7 separate regions of the Homo sapiens genome follow, and regions 1, 2, 3, 4, 6 and 7 are each linked to region 5. Evidence: promoter capture Hi-C in 16 types of primary human blood cells and fetal thymus (Javierre and others, 2016). All regions are on one chromosome and are shown on one strand. Each heading gives the region's core, a stretch centred on a gene start or on the middle of the fragment in contact. The rest is flanking DNA. Distances are from core to core; before and after follow the strand shown. Region 1 overlaps ASB3 (ankyrin repeat and SOCS box containing 3). Region 2 overlaps GPR75-ASB3 (GPR75-ASB3 readthrough). Region 3 overlaps ASB3 (ankyrin repeat and SOCS box containing 3). Region 4 overlaps PSME4 (proteasome activator subunit 4). Region 5 holds the start of PPP4R3B (protein phosphatase 4 regulatory subunit 3B). Region 6 holds the start of ERLEC1 (endoplasmic reticulum lectin 1). Region 7 overlaps PSME4 (proteasome activator subunit 4).

Region 1 (3,016 bases), core at 344-2,843, 1.8 Mb before region 5:
AAGAACTTGGCTTTTAAGTAGACTATACTGGCCTATTGGGATGTTGGACACAGTGACCTGAAAAGGGGCAATGGCTTAGGATAAATGCACATTTACAGATCAACAGAAATGTCATGGCCAAAGTATCTCCAAGAATGTTCTAGAACAATATTCAAGACATTAAAGAACTAAGCTAAATTAAATGGCTTCTGAGTTGTCAGTTTTGGCTGGGCCCGGTAGCTCACGCCTCTGATCCCAACACTTCGGAAGTTTGAGCCAGGAGGACTGCTTGAGGCCAGGAGTTTGAGAGTTGTCAGTTTTGATATGAATATTTAAAATTGCCATTCCGAAAAGAAAACCTTTAGCCCAGGCTCCAATTATAATGACCAAGTATTAAATATTTATGTATGTGGCTATAACAACATACTTTACTAGTCTTGACGAAAATGTACAGTGTGTTACAAAACACATTGAGATATGTATGCTGTCAGAATAGACTGATGATTAGAAATTGCCTAGTCAACACAACAGTCCGTGATTCTTTAAAAGGAGAAAGGGGCTGGCCAGGCGTGGTGGTTCCCGCCTATAATCCCAGCACTTTAGGAGGCCTAGGCGGGTGGATCACCTGAGGTCGGGAGTTCAACACCAGCCTGACCAACATGGAGAAACCCCCTGTCTACTAAAAATACAAAATTAGCTGGGCGTGGTGGCGCACGCCAGTAGAGTCCCAGCTACTCTGGAGGCTGAGGCAGGAGAATCGCTTGGGAGGCAGACGTTGCGGTGAGCTGAGATTGCGCCACTGCACTCCAGCCTGAGCAACAAGAGTGAAATTCCGTCTCAAAAAAAAAGAGCTAAAAAAAGGTGTCTTTCTGATCACCTAAGACTCAGAATTCTAACTGCACTTAATACCATACATCTTAGCCCATATCTTAGCTCTATTTATTTCACATGTTAGTTTGCATTCTAGAATGACAATATAAGCTACTGGAACCAAGAATCAAGATTTCATCTTCTCCACAGCACACAGTAGCTATGCATAAATAACTTCTAATTCACTTTGAAATTGAAAATAATATGGCATTATCTACTTGACCCTCACCAATATATATATATCCTCATTGTAGCATCATCTTAAAAAGAAAACAAGTCAGAAATCTAAATGTCCAAGAACACAGGAACGTTTATAGTTCATCAATGACACAATATTATGCAACTATTAAAATGTATGAGAAGACTAACAGGAAAATTAAATGAGAAATCATAATCCAAAATCCCATGTGTTCCATGATTACAAATTATCTATACGAACAGATGAAGACTAAAAGGAAATAGCAACAAAGATGACACAAATGCCTGGATGATTTAGGCTCGCTATGTGCCAGACATTGGGCATACAAGTAGGTAAAATTGTGGCTTATGACTCAGCATTCCCATGAATGATGTTAAGGTATCAGTACACATACAGCCTTTGGTACTCCGTGGACGAAGTTTATTTAAAAAAAAAAAAAAAAAAAAAAAAAGCTTGCAGGCACTGATAGGTGTCACCTTTGTGCCTTAAATTATGGAACATTCCAAGTCTGGACTTTCTCTAAGGCTTTCCATTTATAAGCAAAGACTGTTTTATCAGTCTTTGAAATGGGAGAACAAATAAAACTTGTTTTGGCTTCATAATATATCATTTCAACCTCAAGTTGAATAGTAAAAAGTGAAGCTTTCCATAATATTGTTAACTGACCTGTGTTAAAACCAAAATGGGAAAATAAAATTGCCTAGAACACAAGTGGTCTGATTGTCCCATATAAGAACTACACGAATAGGCCAGTTCTAATACTGACCTTTAAATAGGGCAAAGTAAAGTTCATTTATGAATGTAAAAGAAATGCCTACCTTGAAGCACCATTACCATATACAGAAAGGTAAGAACACTTCATAACTCAGAAGTGTAAATCACTCATTCTCTCTCACTTAAAACCTCTTAATATCCCCTGGTAGCAGTGGTTCTTAAAGTATGAGCCCCAGAACAATTTCTGAAATCAGCAGGAAAGTTGTTACAAATGCAAATTCTTAGACAGCTCCAGACCTACAGAATCAAAAACTCTGGAGGTGTGGCCTAACAATGTCTTTGTCAAGCCCTCTAGGTCATTTTGATCCACTAAATTTGAAAGTCACTTCCCTATATATAGGAAAGCACCCTTTATGTCATATTTTTTTTCCCCTAATAAAACTATAGGCCGGGTGCGGTGGCTCACGCCTGTAATCCCAGCACTTTGGGAGGCCGAGACGGGTGGATTACCTAAGGTCAGGAGTTCCATACCAGCCTGGCCAACATGGTAAACCCGTCTCTACTAAAAATACAAAAATTAGCTGGGTGTCTTGGCGGGCACCTGTAATCCCAACTACTCAGGAGGCTGAGGTGAGAGAATTGCTTGAGCCCGAGAGTTGGAGGTTGCAGTGAGCCAAGATCGCACCACTGCACTCCAGCCTGGGCTTGTTGAGCAAAACTCCGTCTCAAAAAATAAATAAATAAATAAATAAAACTATAACATTCTTTTTTCCTTAAGGGAAAAACCAGAATATTTATAATTACTGCTTCCATTTGCCTTTCATTTTAGATGACCTTTAGTTACTGGTATGTTTTCCAATATATCCATGTAAAGTGAATATAATATACCTAATACGTATAAATTGATGGAAATCTTTTAGAAAGGCCAACACAGTCTCTAGATAAGGTAGGTTCTCTTAATTCACTTAAGCTTTATCATAAAAAATAACTATGCTTAAGAAATAGTGCTTCTTATGAGCAAATATAATTCAAATATTCCATGTCAAAAATGTTGCTAATGCTCAGCTACTTAATGAACTTTATTAATTCAGAAAAATTTTTTTTTACCTTTTTAAAACAGCCTGGAAGAGTTGTGACTCTTGTTGAAGATCCTGCGGTATGGTATAAATATTCTTTTTTGTATAATTTTAATTTTATAAAATGTTGCGATGTTTCTGTTTCAATTTGATTAACAATCATCACAGACAATTTGAA
Region 2 (2,866 bases), core at 310-2,809, 1.8 Mb before region 5:
GCTGCACCCATTAACTCATCATTTAGCATTAGGTATATCTCCTAAAGCTATCTTCCCCCCTCCCACAGACATTTAATTATTGTACTAAACAAATTGATTTTTCTTATCCTTGTAGGTATATGTTTTATGTGAAAACAGTTTGTGGTATCATGTACAATATATGTTGAAGAATGAGTGTTAGACTGGTAAAATGAAGCTTTTCTTTGGATCCTGCTCATTTGAGATTGACAGTTTGGCCTAGGCTTTGTCTTCTATACTACAGTGCCTAACGAACAGTATTTTAATGGGAGTAGCTTGATGGAGGACGGAAGCAAAGAACTGTTTTACAAAACAATATAGTGGGCTAGGGAAATTGATAACTTTAAAACAATTTTTTTAAAGGAATCTAACCAAAATTATTTGTATACAAATAAATAATATGCAAGTTGAAAATAATTATTAACTAAGCCAGTATGAAGTATCTCTTATATTCTCTTTATAGAATCCAAGAGAATGCCTCTGTGAGATAACCCTAAAAATATTTTTTTAAAGAATATTTTATAGTCAGGTTTTTTTTTAACTAATGCAAAACTGATCCCTCTAACCATCTTCTCACCCTACCCATTACAATTATTCTATTAGTGAGATTTTAGTTTAATAAAACTTGTGTGTTTCTCTGATTCAGGATGGTGTCACATTTTTATGGAAATGGAGATATTTGTGATATAACTGACAAACCAAGACAGGTGACTGTAAAACTAAAGTAAGTTAGACCATCAAATCATGCTGTATGCCTTTGTCTTTTAACTGCTTCCTATGGACAAAAGTTTTATGTAAACAGTATAATTATGAATAATTATGAAAGTATACCATTTAAATTATTGATAAAATTATATTAAATCATACAGGGTCCACTTGAGTGGGATTTTTAAGAGTACAGTTATTAACAGTGATCTTACTTTAAATGATTTGGACAGTACCTTAAAGTGCTCTCTGTTTTAGGTGCAAAGAATCAGATTCACCTCATGCTGTTACTGTATATATGCTAGAGCCTCACTCCTGTCAATATATTCTTGGGGTAAGTTAAAAAGAAAATAATCAAAAATTCCATTTTGAGCCATGTTTTAATTTTTTTTTCTTTTTTTTTTTTTTTTTTTTTGTTTTTTTGAGACGGAGTCTTGCTCTGTGGCTCAGGCAGAGTGCCGTGGCATAATCTTGGCTCACTGCAACCTCTGCCTCCCAGGTTCAAGCAATTCTTCTGCCTCAGCCTCCCGAGTAACTGGGATTACAGGCGCACACCACCACACCCAGCTAATTTTTGTATTTTTAGTAGAGACGGGGTTCCACCATGTTGGCCAGGCTGGTCTCAAACTCCTGACCTCAGGTGATCCACCCACCTCAGCCTCCCAAAGTGCTGGGATTACAGGTGTGAGCCACCACGCCCGGCTGCCATGTTTTAATTTTTTGCATTAAGTTTAGGAAGGACCTTCAGTAGTCTCCAAGGCTTAATATGGCCCACATACCACTCATGTAATAGTTGACATGGTTTTTCTTGACATTTTTTATTGAGATATAATTTACATGAAATAAAATCCACAGATCTTAAGTGTTGAGCTTGATAAGTTTTGACAGTTATATACACCCATGTAACTATCACCCAAAACAAGATATGTCACTGCAGAAAGTTCTATCATACTCCCTTCCAGTAAATACCCCTTAGCCTTGCTCAAAGATACCCATTTCTGATTTATGACATTGTAGATTAGTTTTGTCTCTTTTTTGGATTCCACATGAATGGAATCATATAGTGTATAATATTTCTGTACCTGAACTCTGACTCAGTGTAACACTTTTTTTTGGTGGTGTTTTGTTTAGTTGATTTTTTTTCTATTGATACATAGTATTTGTATATGTTTACAGGTTACATATGATACTTTGTTACATCCATAGAATATGTAGTGATCCAGTCAGGGTATTCAGAATATTCATCACCATAAGCATTTATTGTTTCTATGTGTTGAGAACATTTCAGGTCCTCACTTCTCAACACATCTTAACAGAGGTCTGGACATTAACTCTTTGTATTTGTATTGCACATATTTTTTTCTCTGTCTGTGGCTTGCCTATTCATTTTTCTTTCTTTCTTTTTTTTAATAGAGATAGGGTCTCACCATATTGGCCATGCTGGTCTCAAACTCCTGGACTCAAGCAATCCTCCCACCTTTGCCTCCCAAAGTGCAGGGATTATAGGCATCGGCCACTACACAGGCTGGAATGCAGTGGCGCAATCTTGGCTCACTGCAGCCTCTGCCTCCCAAGTTTAAGCAATTCTTGTGCCTCAGCCTTCCAAGTAGCTGGGACTACAAGCATGCACCACCGTGCCTGGCTGATTTTTGGGTTTTGGTTGGTTTTTTTTTTTTTTTTTTTGAAATGGAGTCTCACTCTGTCACCCAGGCTGGAGTGCAGTGGCATGATCTCGGCTCACTGCAACCTCCGCCTCCTGGGTTCAAGCGATTGTCCTGCCTCAGCCTCCCGAGTAGCTGGTATTACAGGCATATATGGTACCACGTCCGGCTAATTTTTGTATTTTTAGTAGAGACAGTGTTTCACCTTGTTGGCTAGCCTAGTCTCGAACTCCTGACCTCAAGTAATCTGCCCGCCTCGGCCTCCCAAATTGCTGGGATTATAGGTGTGAGCCACCCGCACCCAGCCCCATTTTCTTATTAATGTCTTTTGGTGAATGAAAAATTTTTATTTCATGAAATTCAATTTATCATTTATTCCTCTTTAATAGCTAACGCTTTTTGTGTTCTAAGAAATTTTTCTACCCCAAAATCATGAAAATATTCTCCTATATTTCCTTCTAAAGACTTTATGGTTCTACCTT
Region 3 (3,201 bases), core at 227-2,726, 1.9 Mb before region 5:
AACCCTTTGTACTGTTATTGACTACTTCCATAAGTCTGAAATTATTTCAAAACAAAACGTCTAAATACAAAAGTAATGAGGAAAAAGGAAAGATGGAAAATAATCATATGAATAGATGCTCAACATCATTGGCAATTAGGAAAATGCAAATAAAAACCACAGTGAGATACTACTAAACCTCCATTAGAATTACTAAGATGTAAGGGAGAAAAAGAAAAAGCTGGCAATAGCAAATGTTGGCAAGGATATGGGGCAACTAAAAGTCTCAAACATTACTGAACGAAATGCAAACCAGTAGAAAAAAACTTCCAACTTGTTTCCCAAAGTTAAACATATATTTACCATATGTCATACCAATCCTAAGTATTAACCCAAGAGAAATAAAAACTTATATTGATACAAAACCTGTCTGCAAATGTTTATAGGAGATTTAGTCGTAACCACTAAACAGTGAAAACAACTCAAATATCCAACTGATAAATGGATAAACTGTATCACATCTATTTAATCACATCTATTTAATAGAATACGATTCAGCTAACAAAAAGAAATGGATTATTGATACATGCAACAATATGGATGAATCTCAAAAGTATCATGACAGCTAAAGGAAGCCAGTCTCAAAGGCTATATGGTGTATATTAATTCATATATATGAACAGATCAGTCACTGTCAGGGGTGGAGCTGGGGAGAGGGAAGAAAATATTGATTAAAAATTGGCAGCATGATGGAATTTTGAGGAGTGATGGAATGGTTCTATATCTTGATTGTTGTCATTACAGAATTTTATGAATACATCAAAACTCACAGAACTGTTATATTAAAAAGAATGAATTTTACTAAAGTACATAAATTTAAGTAATATTTTTAAGTCCACAAGGAAAAAAAGTACTTTCACAGACAACTCATTTCATTCTCAGACCAATAACAAAGACTAGATAGGTACTATTACTCTCATTTTATAAGTGAGGATACTGAAACATATAGTAAATAAATAAATATACAAATTACATGTGGCAGGACCAAAACTATAGTCCAGATGCACTGATTCTATTCCAAACGCTTCATTGACTCAATTTTCTCATGTTCCACTAAACTTTATGGGACACAATGTCCCTGAAGACAAATAGAATCGAATAGAAAAAAGGAGGAAAAGAAGAAAAAAGACAGTTATTGGAAGAAAGCCATTTAGAATTTGGCTGTCGTCCTTAAGGAATTAAAAAACAGTCTGTAACAGAAGAGGTCTGAATTAAAAAACAGATCCATACAGGCAACACATTAACTGGCATTAAAGTATTAGCTGGTGATTTCTTCCATAAAAGCTTCTTAATTTTTTAATGTTAAGAAAAGGCAAAAGCAAACATAAAGCATTCACAGGTAACCTTGCAACTACTGCTACAATTTAAGTGATACCTGGTCTTCAGAACTACAGTGAGAACAATGATGGTGCCTACAATTCGAAACAGATTTTGCAACTTTAAATAAACAAAGTCCCAGAAGCTACCACCCAAGAATAGAAAACAAGAGCAAAACCTTTAAAAATATCTTTTCAGTTTCAAAAATCAAGGAAGTAGTGGTATGATAGTTGCCAAAAGAACATACTATAAGCACAACAGCTGAAGGAAAAATTAAGCTTAGTTTAACAAAAAAATAATAATGATGAAAAATTGCATCTGCACCACAAATAGCATACTTACCTAAAAACAATGGTGTCGTTTCTTCTAAAGTAGTTGCATTAGGATCTGCCCCAGCTTCTAAAAGAATCTGTACGATTTTCCAATGTCCTTGACTTGCAGCGAGATGCAAAGCACAGAAACCTTCAAAGGTCTTCATCTTAATGTAGTTTTCAGATGAATCTGTGGAAGAATCAAAGCCCATCAACTAGAAGGTATTACTTCTATTTCCTGGTTTTAAAAAGCAAAGATTCCAAGAGGAATTTAATGAACTATTAAAATGTAAGTAATGTATAAATGACAGGTTTCACCATTTAAAACTATAGAAAATCAAGAAAAAGTTCTACAGAGATCCCACTGTGAACAGCTCTTTGGTATTCTTAATACACAAATCCTGTCCACTAGCTCCCATTTTCTCTTCTCTAATTTTTGGTGAATAAGGGAAGAGGAGTGGCAGAAATTGAAAGGTAACAAAAGCAATAGTCTGAGGAGGATGCAGCACTAAATATTTGCTTAAACAGAATTTATCGAAATATTCATCAATTTTATTTTTTTATTTTTAAATTTCTATAAGGGAAATGGTCTGATCTCTTACCATTACTTCCTTGTAGTCAACTAATACCATGAGGCAGTTTTAAATACTCCTTTTCTAACTTAAGACTATGGTTTAATTGTTAATGAAAACTGCAGTTCTAAAAGAATAAAATGCACTCTAACACAACCAGTGACATATAATAAGGAATTTATGAGTTAAAGTTTCCGAAATGTATTTGTCATGAAAACGTCAAGGTTCTGGTAACACTCAAATTATACAAATGATATTTACACAATAAAATTCTATGCCCATTATAGAAAGATGGGCTCTAAAGTGAAGGGTGAAGACATTTCTGAGAGCTGGAATAAACTAAACAGAAAATAAAAAAAAAAACTTAAACATTTTCTTGAAGTGTCAGAATTGAAACAAATGCTCCTAACTAGTTATCTATTTTAAGTAATTCTTGTCATTGTAACTCACTGATGAAACAAGTAGATTAAGCCATGATATCCCAGTAACAGCTTCTAAGTACATATATTCAAAGAAAACAGTCTCAAACTTCACAGATGCACAACTAAAGGGCAAGATAGAGTAGTCATATTTTAAAAGGACATATCACAGAAATAGGGTTTCAGAGATTAGTCAGAAGTTGACTCTTATTCAAAGTAGTTTATTGAGATTAGTCGGAGATTAGTCAGACATGACCCTTATTTCATGTATTAACCTGACAGTTTTGTGAATACAAATGACATGAAAACCTAGGAACACAAAGACATATATAGATAATAGACATCAGTAGATTGGCTCCTAAATGGAAAATTTCAATATTATAAAGATGCTGATTCTTCCCAAAATAATTAATAAACTTAATACACTTCTAATAAAAATGCCAGTAGAGCTATTTGCTTGTTTTATACTTGATAAAGTAACTCAAGTTGATAAGTCTAGGGTAGTGATGCAGGATTTTTTGCTCCTTAGTTCAGCTAAAATCC
Region 4 (3,113 bases), core at 290-2,789, 1.7 Mb before region 5:
TCAAAAAGTAGCTGAATTAAATGGGTTATCTCTACCTTAATATTTGACAGTTATGAATTCAGGTATTTATCTAAGTAATAGGTAAAAACATATTTCTAAAATGTCAGTTATTTAACTATGTTTCTCACCATAACCCAGTACAGAGGATAGCAACAATACCTTCTCAAGTTTCAAAACCAAGCCCATAGAGTATAAACAAAGAATGGCTTCTTTTTCACTAACTTACTTCAAAGCTTATTAATATTGTATATTAATAGTATCAAACGTTAATTTGCTTTTTCAGACTTTCAAGACCAAATTCCTCTTAAAATTTTGTTTTCCTTCTATAAAGCTTCAACCACTGGCAAACCTGAGCATCTTAAATATTTTTGCATGATCAAAAATATGTATGTATCCAAAATCTGTTAGTAAAAAATAAAATCAGATTCCTTTACATGAACGTTATGTCTTTACTGAAATTAGATTTCACCAAAGAGAAAAGGCCTGTACTCAAGAGTAACAAGAATAAAGCACAAGAGAGTTCCCACCCTCCCCCCGCCCACTGTTAGAGCAGGGGAAGTGCTTGCTATGAGCCATCCTATTAGAGTATGTGTCTCCCCACTGCTGCCATAAACACTTAGTTTTCTGAAGTAGAAATATACAGTCTGCAGCTTATGCAGTCTGTATCTAATGCCATATAATATTAAATCAAGCATGAATTTTAATTACTGTCACTTTAGTTACTGTCATATTATACAAATTAAAAAAAGCATTCTTTATAACCAATTATTCTCCATAGTTTTTACTATATCTAAAAAGCCTGTCATTTGGGAATTTAAAGTTTTTCAAACAAGTTTCATCTAAGAGTCCTGACACCAAATTTCTTAAAATCCATGTGACACTTTGAATTGTTTTCTTATCAGGGAATTTGAAAAATAATCATTTATGCTGACTACTTTAAAAAATCCTGTATAAGATTGTAAAATATTAAGTAATGTATTTAAATAAAAGCCTTATCTTCTTCCTCGACTTTTAAAACTTGGATTAAAATACAGCTTCCATATCTCCTACACAGAGGTGACCCTTGAACAACACAGGTGTGGGTCTACTTACACGCAGATTTTTTTTTCAACTAAATGTATTAGCCAGATGAGAAATCTACACATATGGAGGGCTGACTTTTCCTGTATGTGAGCTCTACAGGGCCTACTGTGGCACTTGAGTATGAATGTATTTTGGTATGCTGTAGGTCCAATCCCCTAACTTCACCAAGGGAAGACTATATATAGGACATATCTGGGTAGTATACATTACAGCTTTTGTTTATTCTTATCCACCATAATTTGATCTCTTCTTGCCTACCACAAATTAACTGGATTAACATGATTTACAATAAATGCTTCTCAGCAAGTGTAGCTATTTATTTATTTATTTTTCAAGATAGGATCTCCCTCTGCCACCCAGGCTGCAGTGCAATGGTACGATCATGGCTCACTGCAGCCCCAACCTTCCTGGCTCAAGTGGACTCACATACACCTCAGGCTCTTGAGTAGCTGGTACTACAGGTGCACACCACCTCGCCAGCTAATTTTGTTTATTTACTTTTTGGTAGAGACAGGGTCTCGCTATGGTGCCCAAGCTGGTCTCAAATCCCTGGCCCCAAGCAATCCTCCTACCTCCACCTCCCAAAGCACTGGGATTACAGGCATGAGCCATAGTATCCTACCTCTTCTGACCTTTAGAAGATTTTTTACTAAAAGAAATCTCTACCCATTACCCAAGTAAAATATCATGACTGTATCTCTTTGTGACATTATAGATCTCATTGTGCCCAGGATGTAATCTGTGATATATTAAACTGTTCTGGTAGCTTTTAGCTATGCACATAATCTTAAGTGAATAGTCTTAAGGCACTGTCTTACAGATCTATATTCTGACTAAAAGCTATGTTAACAATATGTAAGTCAAATCAAATTCCATCACTACCTCTCCCTTCCTCATGTGAAATCCATCCTACTCATTCACTAGTTCATTTTACAAACCATAGTATCATTTAACCTAAGGAACAATACAATTCAAAAAAATAATTCCAGCACAACATACTGTAAATAACACCCTCTATGTAATAATAATAAAATTAAATCTGCTTCATAGCTTCTAGATAGTACCAGGCCACCTAACATATAGTAAAATGTATTAAAATATTTGTACCACTAAAAAAGGACCTATGAATTTTCAACAACTATAGTATTCGTACCACTAGATGGGAATCTTCTTTAGATATGATTAGAGCAGGACTATGAAAAGAATCACTGGTAGGAAAGAAGGGATGCTGAAAAAGAAATAACTAATAACACAAAAACAAAATATATAATACAAATCACATATGTAAATGAAGGCTGGGCGAATTGTCATGAAACAGCTGTAAACAATAATATAAAATTCTTCCTGTGTATAAGTGAAAGAACATCCTATCTTCCCAATAACCCTTCCCCTTCCAAATAAAAATAAACATAAAAGATGTAAAACCAAGCCACTAATAGATTTTTTCCCTTCAAAGTACAAATGTCTCACAAGAGACAGTTAGGCCTATTTTTGTGTTCTATTATCCAATTCAATCCTAGGTAGCAATAATAACTATAAACACAAATGAAAACCTGGCTCTTATCCTGCCAGTGAACAAAGGGTCACTAAATAAAGAGAAATCTTATATGTTGCTAGATTTTAAATTAACTCTGAAAACAGGAACTACTTCCAAGTCTGACACATAAGCTTTTAAAAATAAATGAAAACAGTCAGAAGGTGAAATAAGGAGAAAACAGGGTTACTCACCGTGGAGTAGTAACTGTTTCCTTTTCTGTGTGCAGCTCCCCCAGCAGAGCTGGGTAGTTTCCTGGAGGTGCCAAGAGAGGTTAGCTAGCCCTGCCCCTCATTGCATAAGCAACACATCCTTTCACATATCAATGAAATGGTCTCACTATTAGACCTTAAGTATGAATTTCTTTGAGCGAAAAGTTAGTAAAAGCTGAGATCCTAAGGATGATTTAACTAAAAATGACGTAATAAATCTATCAGAGGAAAGGGGACACAAAATAAAGGAATATTTTGAGATGAAAAATGACTCCTCTACCTTG
Region 5 (2,895 bases), core at 376-2,875:
CATTTAATCTAAAATATTTCACCCTATTCCCATACACCCTTAAAGGAAAAATTAATCTAAAACCAACAATCAAACCAAGGAATGAGGAGACTAGATGACTATTAAAATTTTATTGAAATAAAAATTTTAAGGTCTAAATGACCACTTCAAGCCATTCGTTTTAACAAAAGTTGTTTTATTGCATTCCCAGTTTAACAAATAATGCAAATTACAAAACAAAAACATCATGACAGGGATTAAATACTTAGTATAGAAATTACAGTGCTGCATTTATCCTTTCCTCATTAAGAACAAAAGAACACCTTCTGTAGAAGTGATGACTATTTAAAATAAAAGGGAACAAGCAAGAATACAAAATATGTCAAGACTAAACCTAAGATTATTTTTCTAACTGCCTATATCAGTTGTTCAAATCAAGTCCAGATTATACTATAAAAGGCATTTTAATTACGGCTCTACATTTTGTAATTTAAAATACTTCACATGACTACAATAAACCAAAGAACACAGCAGTTTACAACCTGCTTTGGTGTCCCAACTTGCTTAGATTGTAAGGCATTCACTTTCTCATAGCGCCTTCTACAAAGGCAGCCCGAAGAAATGCAGACTACAGATGTATGTGCTTGTGTGTCCATGTATCGTGGCAACAGTCAGCAATACAGCCAGGAAAACGTGCCTTTCGGTTTTCCCCAGCACCTGTCGACTGTGGCACCTGGGGCCCGTTGGTACAATTTTTTTTTTTTAAAAACACTCGGAAAGAAAAGTTTCCCTAAACCGTTTGTACTAGACGTATAATGGATAAGTAAATAAAGGGGGAGGAAGGTGTCAGCTCCTAGGGCGACATCAGTACCTAGTCTCTCACTACTTCCTCCCTTCTCTCTCACACTCTCCCCTCTTCAAAAGAGGAGGGACTGGAAAGGAAGGAGTCCAATCCTTAAGAGAGATGGGAGAAGGACAGAGAGTCTCGGTCTCCGAGGATAAGTCCAGTCAAAAGTACAGTACTTTGTTTTTGCCGTACACAAGAGCCAGTTCAGAACCAACGCGCTGTCCCGAAGGAGTAGCAACGGTAACGGGCCCAGGGCCCTAAACCCAAGCTGTGCCCCAACCAGAGGCACTATCCCCTATTCTACAGTTCCGATAACCTTACCGTCGGACTCTGCCCGAACCAGCAGCGACATCCCCTTGAGCTCCTCCACGTAAGTGGAGGAGACGTGCCCGGTGCCTCGGTCGTCCCATTGCCGGTCTTCGTTCAGGGTATAGACCTTCACTCGCCGCCGCGTATCCGACATGGTGGCTGCTGTCTCCACCGCTCTAGCCGCCGCCTCCTCGCTTACCTCGTCCGCGCTCCTCACTCTTAGGAGACGGTAAAGGCAGTAGTGGCGGTGGCGGCGGCGGCGGCTTCGGAGAGGCCCGAATTCACCATGGCTCCAAAGGTTCAGCCGCGAGAAGGGGTGACAAGAGCCACTGAGGCCTCTCCGCCCGGAGGCCCCGTTACCTCTCACTTCACCCGCGCATACACCCACTCTCCCGTCTCTTTGCCCCCCAGGGCTCGCTTGCTCTCCCGCCGCCGCGGTAACTACTACAGATCCGCCATCTTGTAACCCGACTCTCTCTGCCTTTCTCTTCCTCCTCCAGCAGGCTCGCACGGGCTGTCCTAGCAGGGGCTACGGCGGCCGACAAGTCCCATGAGCAGCACCTCCGCTTCTGCACGCGCTTCCCAGGCCGGAATGCTCGGCGCTCTCGCGAGGAGGGGTACCGACTGGGGCGGGAGTACTTCGGCGAGACTTCCTCCTCTTTCGGCCCGACTTCCTCCTCTTTCGGCCCCGCCTCTTGGCGCGGGGTCGCAATTGGGCGGGAGGTTCTCGCGATCTCCCCGTCCACGCCTGCGCCGCGAGAGGCCGCTAGGTGGAAGGGGACTTCGGTTCCGCACGTCGTCATGTTGTTGGATGGCACCAGTATGTGACGTTCCTAGGAACTTAGCTCTGAGGAAAAAACAAAGCAAACCGGGGAAGTACGTAGCCTTGAACCGGAGTAACCAGGGACAGAAAGGAAGGAAAAGGGTTTCATACCTTCACGGAACGACGCTCACTTCGTCCGCCTGAGGAGGAAAAATAAGTTTAAACCTTTCTGTGAAAAAGAACGTGGAGCCCTTTCTGCCGAATGGAAACCCGCTAAACCCCGTTATGGAGTCTGCTACAATTAAGCATCTAACCAGGAATTGTCTATGGACACAACTCTCCAGGCAATTCATGCAGAAAGTGTGTTGACGATTTCCTGTTTCTTGCAGAGCGCTTCACCGTTAAGGCTCTTAGTAGCTGGCGATTGTAAAGCACATTTTCCGCTTCATGAAAATACAGTGCTCTTCTTGTGTTTGTAACCTTGGAAAGTAAGTCTGCTATGATAAGTTTAGGGAAGTGGCGGGGAGCTACTTTCCTAACATATCTGTGATTGTTTTGATACTTCTCAGTTTCTCGCGGGCATTTCCTGCGTTCTCTATAGGGCTCTCTTGCACTGAATAAGGAAAGGAGGAATTCTCTCTGCATTGAGGCTATTATCGCACATTGTGCGGTGGATATAGTCACGCGCTGGGTCGTAGTAGCGTGTCGTTTATTTCAGTCCAGCTCACTCTTGGTAGAATCCCTTTATTCGTTTTGTTGTTTTTGATAGTCTCTCTCTGCTTCCCAGGCTAGAGTGCAATGGCGCTATCTCGACTCACTGTAGCCTCCGCCTTGAGGGCTCAAGCGATCCTCTCACCTCAGCCTCCCGAGTAGCTGGGACCGTAGACGCCTGCTCCCCATCCCCGCTATATTCGTTCTTTAATACAGTCTCTCAGCTTGTTCAGCTGCCACTTCTGTGCAGCTCATTAGCCTGATCGGTGAAAACTAGGCGAGACGC
Region 6 (2,870 bases), core at 19-2,518, 1.8 Mb before region 5:
AGGTTGCAGTGAGCCAAGATTATGCCTCTGCACTCCAGCCTGGGTGACAGAGCGAGACTTTGTCTCAAAACAAACAACAACAACAAAAATCCCAGGAGTCTGGATCACATTAAGCATTAATAAGAAGTGCTGAATATAATTAGCGAATAACAATTCTGAAGAAAGTTATCTTCTTTGATACTATGGATTCCTGATGTTAAAAAAAAATTTTTAAGATAGAATATGGGACTGTCCTTCCTGCTTTTTGATTTGGTTCAAATCTGAGGAAGTGGGGGCGACCAGTCTTTAACAGATCTAGCAAGACTGTCGAGCTTTAGGGAATGGTAATTTCTCTAAAGCCAACACTCTATGTCCATTATATTGGAGATCAAAACAGACAATGGCATTTTTTCTAAAGAGGGGGAGGGAAAAACAAAACTTTTTGTCTAATTTGGGGATGCAGTCAGACGTGACTTAGTTCATAAACACACACATTCATCTGGCGCTAAACCTCACATAAGGAACCTTACCAGCTTCCTTGATAAAACAACACCCCAACACTTCAATCTAGAGATGGAGGGTAAAAATGTAGGGTTGTGATGTCTAGCTGCCCATTCCACGAGAGTCGCCCACCACGCCAAATTCGGAGGCTTGCGGTATTCACCTACGGGGAGATGGCGGGCTACCTCACCCCAGGTTTCCCCTAACACAGAGTTGCAGTCGCTGAACAAACTGCCCTGCGTTAGTCAGAAGCTGTTAAGTAACGAGATGGCCACGGTCCACAGCAGAAGAGATGGAGATAAGCCTCAAGCGGGAAAAATGAAGTGTACAAATGCCAAATGCGGAGAAAAAGAAGAAAAGCTGCAAGAAGGCAGGTCAGTCAGGAACACCGCCATTTCTCACATCTCATCGCTACTTCGAATTTTCTCATCTAAGGACCCGCACCCGCACGGTTCACACTGTCTTCTTCCCGCTATCACTCCGTGTGGGTCAAACCTCTGCCTGCCCACTGGAGAGCAGCGGGAATGGCTTCAGGAAGCGGCTGCCGCCTCCGAGACTCACCGACCTGCCGTGCTGCCACTTCTACACCGAAATGGCTGGTCCGAGGCCGCGTCTCCAGAGCTGCGTCCCAGAAGCCCCCGCTTTCGATCCCCACCGCGATGCTGCAGCCGTCCGAAAACGAGAGACGCGCAGGCGACGTCCCGGCCCCCGTAGGCGGACGGCTCCGCGACCCCCGGATGTTGATATGTCGTCTGCCCCGGAAACGGTGACAGGAGGCTCAAGGGGGCGGAGGCGGCGTTGCCGGGCTCTCCGGAAGGAGACGTGGCGGCGGTTGGGCCGGTGATACCCGGGCGCTTTATAGTCCCGCCGCCTCCTCCTCCACCTCCTCCTCCTCCTCCTCTCCTCCTGGAGCAGAGGAGGTTGTGGCGGTGGCTGGAGAAAGCGGCGGCGGAGGATGGAGGAAGGAGGCGGCGGCGTACGGAGTCTGGTCCCGGGCGGGCCGGTGTTACTGGTCCTCTGCGGCCTCCTGGAGGCGTCCGGCGGCGGCCGAGCCCTTCCTCAACTCAGCGATGACATCCCTTTCCGAGTCAACTGGCCCGGCACCGAGTTCTCTCTGGTCAGTGCCCTCACTAACCCCGCAGCCACCCCTCCTCCTGACACTAAGGGTTCGGCCTCTTCCCTCGGTTTTCTTTGCTTTTTCTCCCCAAGACCTTCTCTGCAGACTCTTACCTTCCCCAAGCCAAAGCTGCTTTTATGCAGCGTTCATTCATTCGTTCGTTCTCACGTTATGTGGATGCGTCCCCCTTGCTGAGCATTAGGGATCCAGCAATCACCTGCTCTCCACCTTTTCAATTCTGTCGCACTAGACCTTGCTTCCCAACATTCCCACCCTGCAGAAGCAGCTTTCGTAGAATAACGTCAGGTGCACTTACTCATCTTCCTTTCGGAAAATTAACTGTGGCTCTTACTTCACCAGCAGACTTCTTTCCTTCAGTATTACATGTCACCCTGCCCACACCACAGTACTTCAGACTCGAGTTCCCTCTCTCGTATTCGTTCTCCCTCAGTTGTATACACACACGGACATACGCAAACGCACAGCTCCAAGGGAACTTTTTCCTTTCCTAGTTGTTTCTGAGAGGGCTATTTGGCCTGTGAGATGTTAACGACCCTTTATGCAGAATATCCTTTACAGTTTTCATGTATTACGACTGTTATTTGAGTCCCCAGAACATGAGCTTCTATGTTGAGTTTTCCTGTAGTGAAGAACATTTGTAACCTCGCGGAAATGAAAATTCCCTCTTGGGGGAGTGGACCGCTGAAAAGTCTTCCTGTCCACGTGTACCTACTGCAGGCTAATAAATATTGTACTCTTATGACACTTACCATGTAGTAATTAACTCATTTACTTCAAATTGAAGTCCCGGAAAAAGCAAAATTTTTTTAAACTTTTTATTCCAATTACCTTCAAGCATTCAACTTGCAATACTTTATTATATTCTTTCATTACCATTTCATTGAAACAGTAAGTGACACTATGATGTCAAAACAAGATGTGTCAAGTTAATGGATGTTATTACCACATAGCTTTCTATTTGCAAGTGTTAGGGGTTTTTTGGTTTGGTTTGGTTTGGTTTGGGTTTTTCTGTTTTTGTTTGTTTTTTGAGACAGGGTCTCAGTCTGTTGCCCATTCTGAAGTGCAGTGGTACGGTCACCACTGGCTGCAGCCTCGACCTCCTGGGCTCAAGAGATCTCCTCAGCTTCCCAGTAGCTGGGACTATAGGGAAATCCCACCACTCCTGGCTAATTTTTTTTTTTTTTTCTAGAGGCAGGGTCTCACTATGTTGCCTAGGCTGGTCTCGAACTCCTGGGCTCAAGCAATCCTCGTG
Region 7 (2,901 bases), core at 50-2,549, 1.7 Mb before region 5:
GGTAAACCAAAATCCTAATCAAAAGACATAAATATTATAAACACTCTTACTTGTTTTAGCACCTGAAGTACCAAAGGCACTTGATGAGGGTAAAGCAACCCCTGAGACATTAATGATAAACATAACTTTGCATCTCTTTTCAGTTCATCGTAGCTATTGTCATTTTCCACTGGGGCAATCTAAAAAACAATGTAAAAAGGACAAAAATGGAAAAATAATTGCCAATAAGTACAAAGGCATCCTACATGAGAGACAACACATCTTTAATTTAACAATTTTTATGGAAAATTTCAAACACATAAACTAGAGAATAGCATAATGAACCCCCATGAGCCAATCACCTCTTCAATAATGACAAACTCATAATCTTTTGTTTCATTTTTCCTCCCCTCTGACTCTCATTCCCCAATGAAATTATTTGAAGCAAATCCCTGACTGTTTCATCCTAAATATTTTATTATGTTATTTCTAAAAGGTCCCTTAAAAAAGAATCATGTAATGGACATCATCACACATAAAACTTCGTTACAGTTATAATATAAAATATGTGGCGGTACTCAGATTTCCCCAAGTACCACATTCATGTGTTATTACAACTGGTTTTTTGAAATCAGGTTTAAGGTAATGACCACATATTGTACTTACTTGGTATGTTTCATAAATCTCTTTCAATGCATATATTCCCCCCCGCAACTATCTTAAAATCCCTTGCTCTGTATTTTTTTTCCTCAGGGAAAAAAAGCTGTGTCTGTTGTTTTATAGTTTCCCCACTGTGGCCTTTGCTGATTGCATCCCTGCAGTGGTATTCCTTGGCCCCAGTAAGTCTTATAAATTGGCTATTAGATGTAAAGGTCTGACTTTATTGAAGTTTCACTTTTTTGGGCACAACATAAGTGGTGCTGTGTATTTCTTTCATTGATATTTAGCTTTGTCTTTCTGTGATAATCCATTATAAAAAGAGAGATTTGCGAAATGGTCATTCCTTCTTCATTATTAGCTAGAATACTTATATATATATATATAAGCTTTCCCTCATTTGGAATAATGATTTCCCTTCTGTCCTCCAAAAGTAGATAAGAATTTTTAAAAGACTATCATTATGAATTCCAACAAATCTGATGGCTGTAGCCACTGTCATTCTTTTTTTTTTTTTTTTTTTTGAGACAGGGTCTTGCGCTGTAGCCCAGGCTGGAGTGTAGTGGCACAACCATGGCTCACTGTAGCCTCAACTTTCTGGGGTCGGTGATCCTCCCACCTCAGCCTTCTGAGTAGCTGGGACCACAGGCACGCACCACCGTGTCCAGCTATTTTTTTTTTTAAATGTATGGTAGAGACAGAATCTCACTGTGTTGCCCAGATTGGTCTCAAACTCCTGGGCTTGAGCAATCTTCCTGCGCTGGCCTCCCAAAGTGCTGAGATTACAGGCATGGGCCAGTGTACCCAGTATCCGTATTTGTTTTAATGAAGAAATCAGGTTTGTCTGGTACCATACTTTGACTATGAATGTATGCTGTCTGATGCCTTAAATACGTTTTAAATATTTAAAAAATATACCCTTGCACATTCAGTAGGGGAAAGCTTTAATAAAGTTTGCTAAGGGACTCCGGGGTGCTAAGTTGGAGGGATTCTCATGAGGCTGGCATGGATAACAGAGCAAGATCCTGCCTCTACAAAAAAAAAAAAAAAAAAAAAAATTAGCTGGGCTTGGTGCCACATGCCTATAGTCCTTGGGAGGCTGAGGTGGGAAGATTGCTTGAGCCCAGGAGTTCAAGGTTACAGTGAGCTATGATCACAGCACTGCACTCTAGCCAGGGTGACAGAGTGATACCCTGTCTCTTAAAAAAAAAATAAAGTTTGCTAAGGGAAATTATTTCTATCAAATACTGGACAAACTATCATAGTGAATTAATACACTCAGCTTGAAACTGTTGTTAAAAAAAATTATTCTGACATTTGATAAATTATTAAGGAAAAGTTTATTCAGCGACATCAGGGGTAGGAGGTTTCCTCCTAAACCTACTTAACGGGATTCCTGCAAAAGGTAGAATAGGGTGATCAGATACCAAGGGTGGGGGATTCTTTCTAAACTAGATTAGAGACAGTCTTGCTAAAACTGGACCAAAGACAGACAGGCCAAAGACAGAGCCCAAGGTTGAGATCTAGTCAGAAAGATGGCTCAGAGGAGCTGACTTAAGTTTGGTCAAGGAGAGCCTTTGTCATAACAAAGGCATGATTCAGTTCTTTTTTTGTTATGGGTATGCAAAGACATTTCATAATGCTGAGCTTTAAATATTTTACCTCAGTTAATATAATCCTTGGTATTTTAGAATAAAAATTATTTCTTTTTGCAAATTAAAACCATACTGAGTTATATGTTTCCACCTGTTCTACTGGGAAAAATCGGGATGTTTAATATCATACTGTAAAAGTGAGTCTCTGAGGAAATAACCAATAAAGAGGGGTGTGTAGGAGTGTCTAGCAAAAGCACATATTCATTTACTTTCTACTGGCTGTTGCAGGAAGTCAGGGACCCCAAACGGAGGGACCGGCTGAAGCCATGGCAGAAGAACATAAATTGTGAAGATTTCATGGACATTTATTAGTTCCCCAAATTAATACTTTTATAATTTATTATGCCTGTCTTTACTGCAATCTCTGAACATAAATTGTGAAGACTTCATGCACACTTATCACTTCCCCAATCAATACTCTTGTGATTTCCTATGCCTGTCTTTACTTTAATCTCTTAATCCCATCATCTTCATAAGCTGAGGATGAATGTCGCCTCAGGACCCTGTGATAATTGTGTTAATTGCACAAATTGTTTAAACAATATGAAATCTGGGCACCTTGAAAAAAGAACAGGATAACAGCAATGTTCAGACAACAAAGGAGATGACC

Evidence for each region. The method cuts DNA at HindIII sites, captures the fragments that hold promoters and counts their contacts. A CHiCAGO score of 5 or more calls a contact.
Region 1: a contact is called between a fragment that was not itself captured here and the fragment with the promoter of PPP4R3B in region 5, in 9 of 17 cell types (total B cells, naive CD4 T cells, activated CD4 T cells and 6 more). The highest score is 16.8, in total B cells.
Region 2: a contact is called between a fragment that was not itself captured here and the fragment with the promoter of PPP4R3B in region 5, in 1 of 17 cell types (total B cells). The highest score is 6.3, in total B cells.
Region 3: a fragment that was not itself captured here is called in contact with the fragment with the promoter of PPP4R3B in region 5 in 4 of 17 cell types (total B cells, total CD8 T cells, naive B cells and 1 more); the score reaches 7.9 in total B cells.
Region 4: a contact is called between a fragment that was not itself captured here and the fragment with the promoter of PPP4R3B in region 5, in 6 of 17 cell types (M1 macrophages, total B cells, naive B cells and 3 more). The highest score is 8.1, in M1 macrophages.
Region 6: a contact is called between the fragment with the promoter of ERLEC1 here and the fragment with the promoter of PPP4R3B in region 5, in 10 of 17 cell types (total B cells, monocytes, naive CD8 T cells and 7 more). The highest score is 13.9, in total B cells.
Region 7: a contact is called between a fragment that was not itself captured here and the fragment with the promoter of PPP4R3B in region 5, in 1 of 17 cell types (total CD8 T cells). The highest score is 6.0, in total CD8 T cells.

The regions. Positions count from the first base shown.
Region 1 is chr2:53,769,025-53,772,040 of GRCh38, forward strand. The region is part of intron 1 of ASB3 (ankyrin repeat and SOCS box containing 3); the gene reads right to left. The region is part of intron 1 of GPR75-ASB3 (GPR75-ASB3 readthrough); the gene reads right to left. CHAC2 (ChaC glutathione specific gamma-glutamylcyclotransferase 2) reads left to right here. Exons shown (of 3, transcript NM_001008708.4): 2 at 2,883-2,918. Among named protein-coding and RNA genes, the nearest start is that of CHAC2, 2.7 kb to the left of the region's middle. The HindIII fragment of the contact is 190 bases long and covers 1,499-1,688 here.
Region 2 is chr2:53,813,879-53,816,744 of GRCh38, forward strand. All of the region lies in intron 1 of GPR75-ASB3 (GPR75-ASB3 readthrough), which reads right to left. ERLEC1 (endoplasmic reticulum lectin 1) reads left to right here. Exons shown (of 14, transcript NM_015701.5): 12 at 665-742; 13 at 982-1,057. Among named protein-coding and RNA genes, the nearest start is that of ERLEC1, 28 kb to the left of the region's middle. The HindIII fragment of the contact is 2,730 bases long and covers 195-2,866 here.
Region 3 is chr2:53,749,085-53,752,285 of GRCh38, forward strand. It overlaps ASB3 (ankyrin repeat and SOCS box containing 3), which reads right to left. Exons shown (of 10, transcript NM_016115.5): 3 at 1,699-1,857. It overlaps GPR75-ASB3 (GPR75-ASB3 readthrough), which reads right to left. Exons shown (of 10, transcript NM_001164165.2): 3 at 1,699-1,857. Among named protein-coding and RNA genes, the nearest start is that of CHAC2, 17 kb to the right of the region's middle. The HindIII fragment of the contact is 311 bases long and covers 1,322-1,632 here.
Region 4 is chr2:53,911,060-53,914,172 of GRCh38, forward strand. The region is part of intron 20 of PSME4 (proteasome activator subunit 4); the gene reads right to left. Among named protein-coding and RNA genes, the nearest start is that of GPR75-ASB3, 53 kb to the left of the region's middle. The HindIII fragment of the contact is 2,420 bases long and covers 330-2,749 here.
Region 5 is chr2:55,615,997-55,618,891 of GRCh38, forward strand. PPP4R3B (protein phosphatase 4 regulatory subunit 3B) reads right to left here and starts at 1,626. Exons shown (of 17, transcript NM_001122964.3): 1 at 1,148-1,626. The coding sequence starts at 1,289. It overlaps PPP4R3B-DT (PPP4R3B divergent transcript), which reads left to right and starts at 1,934. Exons shown (of 3, transcript NR_186624.1): 1 at 1,934-2,386. RefSeq lists enhancers at 582-1,508, 1,509-2,433, 1,527-1,926, 1,947-1,996. The HindIII fragment of the contact is 10,945 bases long and covers 1-2,895 here.
Region 6 is chr2:53,785,776-53,788,645 of GRCh38, forward strand. It overlaps ERLEC1 (endoplasmic reticulum lectin 1), which reads left to right and starts at 1,269. Exons shown (of 14, transcript NM_015701.5): 1 at 1,269-1,597. The coding sequence starts at 1,436. It overlaps ASB3 (ankyrin repeat and SOCS box containing 3), which reads right to left and starts at 1,178. Exons shown (of 10, transcript NM_016115.5): 1 at 1,046-1,178. The region is part of intron 1 of GPR75-ASB3 (GPR75-ASB3 readthrough); the gene reads right to left. RefSeq lists enhancers at 668-1,326, 842-1,261. The HindIII fragment of the contact is 9,655 bases long and covers 1-2,870 here.
Region 7 is chr2:53,875,577-53,878,477 of GRCh38, forward strand. PSME4 (proteasome activator subunit 4) reads right to left here. Exons shown (of 47, transcript NM_014614.3): 42 at 51-179. Among named protein-coding and RNA genes, the nearest start is that of GPR75-ASB3, 17 kb to the left of the region's middle. The HindIII fragment of the contact is 553 bases long and covers 1,024-1,576 here.